2 separate regions of the Homo sapiens genome follow, and region 1 is linked to region 2. The links are contacts of gene promoters, found by promoter capture Hi-C in blood cells and fetal thymus (Javierre and others, 2016). All regions are on one chromosome and are shown on one strand. Each heading gives the region's core, a stretch centred on a gene start or on the middle of the fragment in contact. The rest is flanking DNA. Distances are from core to core; before and after follow the strand shown. Region 1 has its middle 12 kb from the start of ADGRF1. Region 2 holds the start of TNFRSF21 (TNF receptor superfamily member 21).

Region 1 (6,605 bases), core at 434-2,933, 260 kb before region 2:
CTGAGGGCTCTGTTCTGTTCCATTGATCTATATCTCTGTTTTGGTACCAGTACCATGCTGTTTTGGTTACTGTAGCCTTGTAGTATAGTTTGAAGTCAGATAGTGTGATGCCTCCAGCTTCTGCACAGCAAAAGAAACTACCATCAGAGTGAACAGGCAACCTACAACATGGGAGAAAATTTTCGCAACCTACTCATCTGACAAAGGGCTAATATCCAGAATCTACAATGAACTCAAACAAATTTACAAGAAAAAAACAAACAACCCCATCAAAAAGTGGGCGAAGGACATGAACAGACACTTCTCAAAAGAAGACATTTATGCAGCCAAAAAATACATGAAAAAATGCTCATCATCACTGGCCATCAGAGAAATGAAAATCAAAACCACTATGAGATACCATCTCACACCAGTTAGAATGGCAATCATTAAAAAGTCAGGAAACAACAGGTGCTGGAGAGGATGTGGAGAAATAGGAACACTTTTACACTGTTGGTGGGACTGTAAACTAGTTCAACCATTGTGGAAGTCAGTGTGGCGATTCCTCAGGGATCTAGAACTAGAAATACCATTTGACCCAGCCATCCCATTACTGGGTATATACCCAAAGGACTATAAATCATGCTGCTATAAAGACACATGCACACGTATGTTTATTGCGGCATTATTCACAATAGCAAAGACTTGGAACCAACCCAAATGTCCAACAATGATAGACTGGATTAAGAAAATGTGGCACATATACACCATGGAATACTATGCAGCCATAAAAAATGATGAGTTCATGTCCTTTGTAGGGACATGGATGAAATTGGAAACCATCATTCTCAGTAAACTATCGCAAGAATAAAAAACCGAACACCGCATATTCTCACTCATAGGTGGGAATTGAACAATGAGATCACATGGTCACAGGAAGGGGAATATCACACTCTGGGGACTGTGGTGGGGTGGGGGGAGGGGGGAGGGGTAGCATTGGGAGATATACCTAATGCTAGATGACGAGTTAGTGGGTGCAGCACACCAGCATGGCACATGTATACATATGTAACTAACCTGCGCAATGTCCACATGTACCCTAAAACTTAAAGTATAATAAAAAAAAAAAAAAACAATCTGTAGCAATTAACTTGTGCTAGTAACATTGTTTTGCATTGACCTACTCATTTGTTTCACACCATGGACTGAATAACATATCTTTGCCTCATTGATTTGAGATGCTACCTTTATTAAATACTAAATTCCTATGTGACTTTGGGTCAATTCATGGATTTTGTATTCATTTCATTCGTCTGTGTCTGCTCAAGAACAACTTAATACTCTGTTTATTGTGACTTCATCATATATCTTTATATCTAATATACTAATTATTCCTCATTATTCTTCCTTTTCAGAATTTTTCTATTTCTGCTTATTAATTTATTCATATAAACTTTAGAATAAGCTTGACTTTCCCCCTCCCCACACACCACAAAAACCTATTGATATATTTATTGAGATTATGTTAAGTGTATAGGTAAATTTGGGGATAATTAATGTCTTTTGAGTTCCTCTAAAGAAGAATATGGCTTGATTTTCTACATGATCAAATAAAATAAAATAATTAAGCAGTGCTGATCATAATTCTGAAAGATGCAATTTTGAACATGATAATCTGTAATTTCAATCATAATTTGGGTTGAAGTACCGAAGGATCAAAATCTCTAGTCTAAAATCTTGAAAATCACAATAAATCCCAAATGTTGAAACCCTGAAACCTGAATTCTGGGGAAGGTATGAATGAGTTTTCAGCTGTAAGCAGGGTTGTTGCATCATGTTAGTTGCATTATGTCAGGCAGAACTATTATTACCTTGTTTTTGTCTTTATTTGCATTTGGAGGGCAATTCAGATGACTGGATGGGCCATGTGATAAGGCAATGATGAAAGCTTCCTTTTAAAAATGCATTATTTCGGCTGGGTGCGGGGGCTCACGCCTGTAATCCCAGCACTCTGGGAGGCCGAGGTGGGTGATCACCTGAGGTCAGGAGTTTGAGACCAGCCTGACCAACATGGTGAAACCCCATCTCTACTAAAAATACAAAAATTAGCTAGGTGTGGTGGCATGGGCCTGTAATCCCAGCTACTCGGGAGGCTGAGGCAGGAGAATCACTTGAACCCAGGAGGCAGAGGTTGCAGTGAGCTGAGATTGCACAACTGCACTCCAGCCTGGGCGACAGAGCGAGACTCATCTCAAAAAAATAATGCATTATTTGTCTGCACTGGCATTCCTTTCAGCTGGTGAAATTCCAGGAGCTTTTAATGAATTAAAGTCGCATTTCTCTGAAGAAGCCAGCAAAGTTACTGACTAGTTTAAAAATAATTATGTGCCTGGTAGGATAGGAAGACACTTATACAACAGTGTTGGGGTTCGATCAACAGTATAGTTCCCACCAAATTTGTAGTCTGTATATAAGTGCACGCGGAATGGACTTTGCATGCGCAAAGCAACCTAGAAGTGTGGTACAGAAGATGGGAAAACAATAGGGAATGCTTATGTTGTTGTATATTGAATCACAGAATGATTTCAAAAAGAGCAAGCACCATATAGAAAATGAAAGTGAACATATTCTCCAAGGAGAATCATCTGGATGCAAGACTTCAAAATAGAGCTAATGATAGTGAAAGCTGGCCAGCTCTTATGAACAGCCTATGTGCAATTATGCATAGTCTATCCCTCTAATTGCTTTTTCATATGGTAAATTTTCTTTTGAGTTTGTTTTTCTTCTTTTTTCTTTTTAAATTTTTGATTCCCAACTATTTTAAATTGACAGCATTATTTTTCACGATTTGCTATGCTATGTATTTCATCTTTACCTCATTTCCAATATTGGAGGTATAAATTGTGTAAAGACTTTTAGAGAGTTCTAATTCATTCTATGCATTTTTTATAAACTTGACTCCATGAAAGTACATTTGACTTCATGTGTAAGCCTCGTGTGTATATGTAAAAATATTGAAACTTTCTTAATAAATGAAGAAATGTCCTTTTAGTGCATCTGCTTTTGTAAAAGAGAAAACTGCTCAAGGGTTCGGCTCTTTGGGTGACTGCATATGCGGTGGCGAGTGATCACAGGTTTCTATTGTTCTTCTCAAAAGACGTGGGTTGTCCATCACAGCATTTCAGATTATTGCAGTTATAAAGCTGAGCGTACACAATTACCAGCCATAGTGATACATGATTTCTACATTTCACTTTTTCATCTATTTATGAATACACTCGTCTGCTCATAACTTATACCCATGCAATTGTTCCTAGTATACCTAAGTGGGCTTGCAAAAACATAGTTTTTTATTATAATTTAAGTTCTGGGATACATGTGCAGAATGTGCAGGTTTGTTACATAGGTATATACGTGTCATGGTGGTTTGCTGCACCCAGCAACCCGTCATCTACATTAGGTATTTCTCCTAATGCTATCCCTCCCCAAGCCGCACACCTCCCAACAGGCCCCAGTGTGTGATGTCCCCCTCCCTGTGTCCATATGTTCTCATTGTTCAAATCCCACTTATGAGTGAGAACATGCGGCATTTGGTTTTCTGTTCCTGTGTTAGTTTGCTGAGAATGATGGTTTCCAGCTTCTTCCATGTCCCTGAAAAGGACATGAACTCATCCTTTTTTATGGCTGCATAGTATTCCATGGTGTATATGTGCCACATTTTCTTAATCTAGTCTATCATTGATGGGCATTTGGGTTGGTTCCAAGTCTTTGCTATTGTGAACAGTGCTGCAATAAACACACATGTGCATGTGTCTTTATTGTAGAATGATTTATAATCCTTTAGGTATATACCCAGTAATGGGATTGCTGGGTCAAATGGTATTTCTGGTTCTAGATCCTTGAGGAATCGCCACACTGTCTTCCACAATGGTTGAACTAATTTACATTCCTATCAACAGTGTAAAAGTGTTCCTATTTCTTCACATCCTCTCCAGCATCTGTTGTTTCCTGGCTTTTTAATGATCGCCATTCTAACTGGCGTAAGATGGTATCTCATTGTGATTTTGATTTGCATTTCTCTGATGACCAGTGATGATGAGCGTTTTTTCATGTATCTGTTGGCTGTATACATGTCTTCTTTTGAGAAGTGTCTGTTCATATCCTTCGCCCACTCTTTGATGGGGTTGTTTTTTTCTTGTAAATTTGTTTAAGTTCTTTGTAGATTCTGGATATTAGTCCTTTGTCAGACAGATAGATTGCAAAAATTTTCACCTATTCTGTAAGTTGCCTGTTCACTCTGATGATAGTTTCTTTTGTTGTGCAGAAGGTCTTTAGTTTAATTAGATCCCATTTGTCAATTTTGGCTTTTGTTGCCATTGCTTTAGGTGAAAAACATGTGTGTTTTATTGTCTATTTTATTGTGGAAAGTGGGCTCTGAAGTGTTCTGTTGTGTTTTTATAATGTTTCTCAAATGAGCCACCTTTTAAAAATGAAAATAAAATATCTTTTAAATTATTTTTTCCAGAATTACATTTTAAGGATTTTGATTTTTCAGGATTTCAACCTTCAGAAATACAGTGTTCAGGGTTGTGTCTTTCAGGATTATGACTAAACCCATTATCAAGGAATGAATCTAACAACTAGGCAGGAGTAATATTAAAATATTTTTAAATGTATGAAAAAATGCAGAAGAAGTTTCCTCAGTTATATCCCAAGGCTTGTGAGGTGTGATTGTATGCCTTCACGTATCATTAAAATATAAAATGAAATTGAACCTGACGTTAGAAAACATTGCCACCCAGGATGAGATTCTATTGCAAGTTTACCATGAAAGGGCAAATGGATGAAAGATATACCTTTAAAAAGAAATATATTTATATCATAAAGAAAGAGGGGAAAAAAAGGGGGAACGCAGAGAGACACATAAAGTACACTCATTTTTGCAATGATTTTTCTGTCCTGGTTACTTATTATTGTTTCTGCTTCTTCTTTATGGTACTGGGGTATAACGTGTATTTGTAGGCCGTTTCTATTTCCCTGCACACAGATGAAATGTAAGTAGGGTCAGGCCATGCACAGTTGTCGATCTATCTCTGGTAACCCCTTTTTTTTTCTCCCCTTCCTCACCTTGGCAGCCCTTCTGCCTGCAAGAGCATTGTGGGGGGCAGGGTACTGTGAATGATGAGGAATAAGGCCCAAACCTTTCCTGTGAAATATGTGCTCAGTGTTTGAGTAAGCATTGATACTGATTATTAATAAGGGAGGACAATGAGATGAACAAAATTAGAAAATATTTTTCTCAGAAGCAACATGCACTAGCGACTAATAAATTTAGAGTCTAACTTCTCCAGAGTATAATGTTATACTTGTGTCATCAACTGTTAAAAATTTTCTTAGAACACCATTTATATGTATACATACATATATGTATGCTTAGGTATACTTAATTTAATAGACGATTGATCGTGTGGCATAGTCTCCTGCTTTCCAACAATATAAAATATTGGCAACGGTGCTGAACAACTATAACACTCATAAAATTGTAGATATGTAAAATTGTACAATCACTTTAGAAAATAGTTGGACAATTATTAATTTAACAATTGTTCATTGTTAATGACAATTGTTACTTTTAGTTATAAGATTAAATATGCACTTACAATTTGACCCAGCAATCCCACTTGTATATATTTACCCAAGGGAAATGAAGGTAATAGATCAACATAAATTGTTGTATGGGCCAGACATGGTGGCTGAAACCTGTAATCCCAGCACTTTGGGAGTCTGAGATGAGAGGATAACTTGAGGCCAGGAATTTGAGACCAGCCTGAGCAACATGATTAGATCCCATCTCTTAAAAAATTAAACATTAGCCAAATGTGGTGGCACATGCCTGCAGTCCTATCTGTTCAGGAGGCTGAGGCAGAAGTACTGCTTGAGCCCAGGTCAAGGTTGCAGTGATCCATGATCATATCACTGCACTCCAGCCTGGGTAACAGAGTGAGACCCTGTCTCAAAAAAAAAAAAAAAAAAAAAAGACTTGTATGCAATATTCGTAGATTTATTTGTAACAAAATCTAAAAGCAATCCAATGTTCATGAACAGGTGAAGGAACAAACAAATTCAGATATAACCATACAATGGAATACTACCAAGGAAGCAATACAATATTCTTAGCAAGACACCTGGAAAGGTAAGCAATAATGAGGACTTTGCACTCTATGGAAAAACCATGTTGTACAAATGCAAGATATTACATTCCTTGGTTTTAACCTATTCTCTTCCTTCAGGATCGCTGTCACTCATGGTCTACTTTGAATTACACTTACTGAAGATGCCAGCTAATTCTTTATAGTGCCTCAGTGCCTGTTTTAGTAGATGATCCCAGAACTAAGGTAAGTACTGTGTCAGACACAGTAAGAAGTATACCAAGTCCCAGGATATAGAGAGCTGACAATTTTGTATAGTAAACAGTACAAATGCAAAAAAATTTGAGAATTGTATTAGACCTTACAATAAACATTTCCAATGCCTGTTGCCTGCCTATGTTCAATAAAAACAACAAAGAAGAGATGAACTATAATAACTTAAGAAGTTAATTAAAACTTTACAATATGCTACATCTA
Region 2 (6,364 bases), core at 2,289-4,788:
AACACGCAGTGTGGCACAGGGCTAAGGGAGGACATGAGCTGAAGAGCCAGGCAGTCCTGGGTTCTGGCCCCAGCAATATCACGTGCAAGCTGTGTGGCCTGGGACAAACCAATGAAGTTCTGGGAGCTTCCATTTTCTCAACTATAAAAAGGAGACAATATCACCTGCTTCACAAAGATGCTATGAATAAATGAGATACTGTATACAAAGCACCTGGCATGTAGCAATTGCTCTCTCTATACATATACAATTGCTATATACATGTGTATATATTATATCATATTGTGTACCTATATATTTGTATTTTTATAAGCTTATAGTAAGCTATTTTTCATGCAGTTAGCCGGTCATGACAAACAAAAAGTCATAACACAAAAATGATGACAATAAATATTATCACACAAAAAGGGAGATATTTGAAAGAAGAGCATTAAAAGACATAATAAATAGAACATTTTACTGGGATTATTACTTTTTAATCTAACTGTAATACGTGGGCAGGCCACTAACTTGCCCACCTCCCCCAGTAGTGTTCTGAGTACCCTGCCACGTGTACCCAGGCTCCAGTACCTGATGTCCGTTATGTTCACATGGCCAAGGATCCCAATGGGATAAATACTTCTTGGAACAGTATCATGAGATCATCATTTTATACATTAACAAAGCCTGTGCTGTGGACTTGGGCATGCAGAATAAGAATGTGAAAGACAAAAGGCATTTCCTCCCCACCCTGGATGGGGATTATAACATAGTCTCTACTGATTCCTGGCACACCCTCCAGTCACCCTTCAGGATGAAGGGCTGAACCTCATGCCATTTCATGAATTTACCTGAAGTCTTTTTAGCATAGCTAGCAGAAGAATAAGGAATCCTGTATTGGTTATCAACTTGAGACTGCTCCTAAGCCCCATTATAAATTTTATCTTTTTCAAAGTAGCCAAACTTAAATTGTCAGGTCTTTAGTTGCAAATCCAGTGCACAATTTTTAGGGTAGGTTGAGTTTGATGACTTATTTTTTATTTTGGTTTTGGAGACAGGGTCTCACTCTGTCACTCAAGCTGGAGTGCCGTGGCATGGTCACAGCTCACTGCAGCCTCAACATCCTGGGCTCAAGCCATCCTCCCACCTCAGCCTCCTGAGTTGCTGGGCATACAGGCGCACACCACCGCCACACCCACCTAATTTCTTGTAGAGATGGGGTCTCACTATGTTGCCCAGGCAAATCTCGAACTCCTGGACTCAAGCAATCCTCCCACCCTGGCCGCCCAAAACGCTGGGATTACAGGCATAAGCCAGGGTGCCTAGCCTGATGATTCAAGAAAAGGAGCTGGGCCCTTTCTCAGTTAGTTAAGGCAACCTACCATTTGATTACATCAAGACCTTTGTTTAATTACCTACCTCATGCTAAAAGGTAAAATAAATGGAGTATTGCACAATGACTTAAGATTTAATCTGGGAATGGACTCTGTGAGGCATATAATAATCAGATGTGTTAGAAGCACCTGAAACATAGTAGTGGATAGTAGTGGATCTAAAGCTGTGAAAAAGGAAATGATGATAGTTCTCACTCCACTGAACTAGGATCAGTGTTCCCATGGACCTAGATGTGTTTCTCTCCACACCAAGACTGTCAATCCAGGTTCATTGTCCCAAGAGACTCCCCGACTACTGCTTACCATCCACCACACTTGTTTCACTTGTTTCAAAGATATAAACCTTGGCCATGCCATTAATAAGTGGGCAGAAAAGAGTTTCTGAAGGGAGACTGGGACTTGCCTCATTATAAATGCTAACAGTAACAAACTTTTATTTAGTCTCTCTCTTCCTCTTAAAACACACACACAAGGAACCAGAGTGTCTGTAGGATGAATTCCCAGGCCATAGCAACTGCAATGTCCTGAGATCTAAGCAGTTCTTGGCTGGCCAGGCGTTAAGCCCTTTTGGGGAAGGAGACAGCAAGCCTGCTTTTCCCTTACACAGCCCTGTCGTGAAAACAAGCTCTTGTTTCTTGGGGGTTTTTTTGTTCGGTTTTTAGCTAAGAATTTCCATCCCTCCTGCAGTGATAAAAGATAGGCAAGGGAAGCTCAAGGGTTTGATCTCAAATTTTCTTCCACCTAACTTGCCCCTTCACCCCAATATTTGGAAATAAAGGGAGGGAATTTGGGGGAAGTTGAGGGTAAGTTTTTGGTCAAGATGATTGACCCGAGATGTGGATGCAGCTTAGACGATGAGGGAGACTGCACCACCCTGCAGGGTCACCTGCCTAGCCACAGGTAAACGAGGGATCGGAAAGACTGTAGAAAATTCATCTTCCTTCACACACATCTCCTTCCCCCTCCCCCCATTCCAGTGCCGGCGCGCTGGCTGGCTGGAAGCCGGCGCTTTGGAGGCGCCGGAGAGTGGGTCTAAGGGTGATATTTCGGCATACAGAACCTGAGACCCCACCCGAGCCAAGAGGGAAGAGAGAGGGTAAAGGGATTGAGGAGGGGGCGGCTTGCGCCCTGCTCGGGAATGCACCGCGCGACAGCACCCGGAGGTCTCCGGTGTCCGGCGCGCACCGGTACCACTGTCTTCCACTGCGGTAGCATCCCGACATGACATTGCAGCTGCAACAAAGCGCCGGCCTCGGCCGGCCGTGGGAGCCCCACACCGCGGCGAGGCCCCACACCACGCAGAGGGGCAGTGGCCGATGGGTGGGGGGCTGTGGCTGCGGGCGTGGGGAGCGCGAGGTAGGCCGAGTAGGGGGAAAAGCCCTCAAATGCGCAGAAGCTGGGCGGCTACCTCTAGCGTCTCCTCCAGCAAAGCCAGACTGCAAGGAAAACAATTCGTCTTCATTCCCCAGCCCCGGCTGAGCCCTGAGATTCCCCCAAATAACCTAGTCGAGGCCCTCTGGTGTGTTGCCTTCCCTTGGAAACCCCTCAGTGCCCGTAACCCAGTCGGCCGGGCCCCGCGCCTCCCTAAGCCCCGGCCCGGTGACCCGCCCGGCTCCCGGAGAGCGGTTCCTTCTGCTCCGGCGCCGCCGCCACCCCCGGTCCACGCAAGCGCTCACCAGGAGAAGGGAGCCCGCGATCATCGTGGCTGTGGCTCGGCGGGCGATGCGGCTGCAGGAGGCGAGGGCGGTGCTGCTGCTCGGAGAGGTCCCCATGGCTGAACCGGGGACTCGCAGGGGCGCCCGGGGCGCGCGGGGCAGCTGGAATCGGCGGCTGCTTCTGCCCAGCGCCGCATCCACCGCCGCCTCCCGGGCCGGGAGCCCATCTACCTCCAACACCCCATGTGCACTGCTGCGGCCGGGCAGAGGAGGGAGGCGGCAAGGGAGGCTCTAGGGGCGCTCAGCACCTGCCCAGCGGCGCGGCCGCCCAGGCGGGGAGAAGCCGCCGCGACTGCAGCCCGCGTCTCCGGGTGCTCTCCTCCGACAGCGGCTGAGGAGAACCAGGGAGGAGGACTGGGCGCGAGAGAGCAAAGGAACGACTTCCCATAGCGAAGCTTCCAGCCACTGCCAACCACCCTCCTCCGCTGCCCAGACTGGTCGGCGAGGGACTGAGTCGGTGGCCACCGGGCGCAGGGACACACGTGGTGGCGCCGAAGGGGCGGGGGACCGGCCCTTTGTGATGTCACCCGGGAGGAGGCCGGGCTCTTTGTGCGGTTGGAAAGGCGAAGGCGTTCCAGGTAGAGCGGGGAGGGAGAGGGTGCCCCTTGGCGTTCGCTGAGGAAATTGCACGCGCCTGTTGACCCAGGGAAAGCGCTGAGAAAGCATCTCACTCCTGATCTAACTTTACTTATTTTTTCCGAGATAATTCCAACTAAATTATTTCAGCTACATACGCCTTTCCATTGTTTCGGACACGATGATTAAATCAGAGAGCGATGGTGAATAGACCACAGAGCACTTAGATCAACTGCGTGACGAAAAAGGAGACCTGTGTGTTGCTTCTCAAACTTTGCTGCCCTGTGGAATCACCTGGAGAGTTCAAAACATATATATTGATTCTTGGGTCCCACCTCTAGAGACTCTGATTTAATTGGAACAGGACAGGATCTGGTCTGGGCATTGAGGTTTGTTGTTGTTGTTGTTTGTTTGTTTTTTAAGTTTTCAGGGTGATTTTAATATGGGGCAAAGATTTTAATTTTTTATATTTTAATTTTAATATGGGCTTATGAATGCAATTAAGGAAATCCAAACTAAAAGGATTTAAAACCCAGAGTCATTGGTGTTGGGTCCATGGATGGTCTTGGAGGGACTTTTGAACTCCTTGAAATGTATCAAAAGATGCATTTTCCTAATTTAAAAATCAAGAGTTTTGAATCGGATTATCCCTGAGATTTTTTTTAATCACCCTTCCCCCAAAAAATAATGCTAAAAATTTTTGAGTTGATTTCCAAAGGCCTTGTCAGGATGTGGGTGGTAGAATAGGTAGTATTCTGCTTCAGAAGGAGAACTGGAATATTCTCGTGGATGTTGGTATCTCACACACTTCTGAATGTAAGAGAGCAGCTGTTATCCTTTTCTTTGTTTCACCTGGGGGAAGGCCGAGTCTCCTGACTGTGGCCACCATTTCTGGTATCGTGTTATCCATCATCTAGGTACTGACAGCACATGGCACACTGTATTGATATTACCTCTTCAGCCATCCAGTCCACACCCCTCAATTGGGAGCCCTATGGTGCTGGGCTTATCCTAGGCTCCTTTGGTCCCATTTCAAAAGAATCACACTTTTTAAACTATCAGTTTCAAGATCCAACACCCAGTGCTAATAAAGGTAACTTGCTAAGTCATAGGTACCAATTATTTGCTTTATTAGTTAACATGTTGTCCTTTGATTCTTTGCTCTATGCACACTTTGGTAGAAGCTAAAATTAATATGAGGGTTAATTCCAATCTATTATTTCAAACATTTGTCAGTATTGTCTATAAATGTTAGAGTGGGAAAAAAGCTACAATATATAACCTCTAGTGAAATTCAAAGGAGTTCTAGAAAATATTACCATTAATTATGGAGTTTTGGGGAAAGGATGATGGTTGGACTTGCCACTCTCTAGCTATTTTCAGAAGTTGAAAGAGTGAGGGATAGATGCTGTGTTTTCATGCATAACTGTATCAATTTTTTCTTCAAAAATTCAAATGACTGGCCAATACTATTATAAGGTTGGGTTGTTTTTTTTTAAGAAGTTACATAGGTATTAAAGAGGAGGAGGAGCTTCAAATACGTTTTTATTTAGTCCATTTTACTCCTTGCATCCAAACTCACATTTTTCGTGGTAATATATGATTGATTTGCTCTAAAGAGTTGGGCAACTTTAGAGTTTAGTGTCTGGGTTACTATGCAGGTATAAGAAGTTCTTCTCAACTATTTGTCTTCCTAAAACTAAAAGAAAATTGTTTATTTGTGCTTGGACCACTTTGAAACTTCATGAATTCCTGGTGTTCCATTGATCATATCAAGTTGAAATTTAATATACATTTTGAGAGATGAAAAAATTTACTCAATTCTGTTTACTACTAACATTTAAATACATGTCCCTCTATAGAGTGATAGATTATAGATAATTTGAATCTAGATGCAGTGTGAAATTTTATTACTTTGAATTGAAATGTATACATGCCTTCCATTTTGAAGTAACAATGCTGCAACCATTAAATAATTCATTGCCACATTTTCAATGTGGTAACTTAGACATGTCTGTTTTCTGGGAAAGGATAAAAATTCAATGATACATAAGGAAGTTTCTCCCAAAGTTCCAAGGAAAGAGGAGATATGTGTTGATAAATCATAATTATAGCTAAATTTTAAAGGAAGGCCTAAATGAGTTAATCCAATGTCATCTTTGCCATAAAAATTACTCTATCTCCACCCTCCATCCTACCTTTGGACTTTCTCTCTTTCTGCCAATGTTGTACAATTTTTCTAGTTTTCCAACCTCAAAAATCATTGCTAATTCTTTCCTCGTCCTTAGTACATTCCAATTAATGCTTTCCTAACCTTTCATTTTTTTCTATTTTATCTTTCTTGTTAAAAATCTGATATATACATCTGGATACTGAAGAAATCACCAGAGATTGCGCCACTGCAGTCCGCAGTCCGACCTGGGCGACAGAGCGAGACTCCGTCTCAAAAAAAAAAAAAAAAAAAAAAAAAGAAATCACCAGATTTACCATCTTGTCTTAATTATTTTTTTAACTTATCCTGCACACTTTCAGAAGGTCTAGTAAAATTTCATGTTCTTTATAATGAAAATAACAATTGTCCACATTTTGAGAAATGACTGCTGCATGACAAACATCCTGAGCCGATCTATGAGGGAATGACAGAAAGTTGGCAGGAAAATGCCAGCTCCGTTGGGGAGACCCTAACCCAGTGGCGCTAGA

What was found. Contacts are between HindIII fragments. The CHiCAGO score rates a contact against its expected background, and 5 or more counts as called.
Region 1: a fragment that was not itself captured here is called in contact with the fragment with the promoter of TNFRSF21 in region 2 in 6 of 17 cell types (M0 macrophages, M2 macrophages, M1 macrophages and 3 more); the score reaches 10.9 in M0 macrophages.

The regions. Positions count from the first base shown.
Region 1 is chr6:47,050,848-47,057,452 of GRCh38, forward strand. No RefSeq gene overlaps it. Among named protein-coding and RNA genes, the nearest start is that of ADGRF1, 12 kb to the left of the region's middle. The HindIII fragment of the contact is 483 bases long and covers 1,443-1,925 here.
Region 2 is chr6:47,306,367-47,312,730 of GRCh38, forward strand. TNFRSF21 (TNF receptor superfamily member 21) reads right to left here and starts at 3,539. Exons shown (of 6, transcript NM_014452.5): 1 at 3,050-3,539. The coding sequence starts at 3,145. RefSeq lists enhancers at 2,490-3,212, 3,376-3,555, 3,507-3,801 and a silencer at 3,006-3,235. The HindIII fragment of the contact is 9,028 bases long and covers 3,482-6,364 here.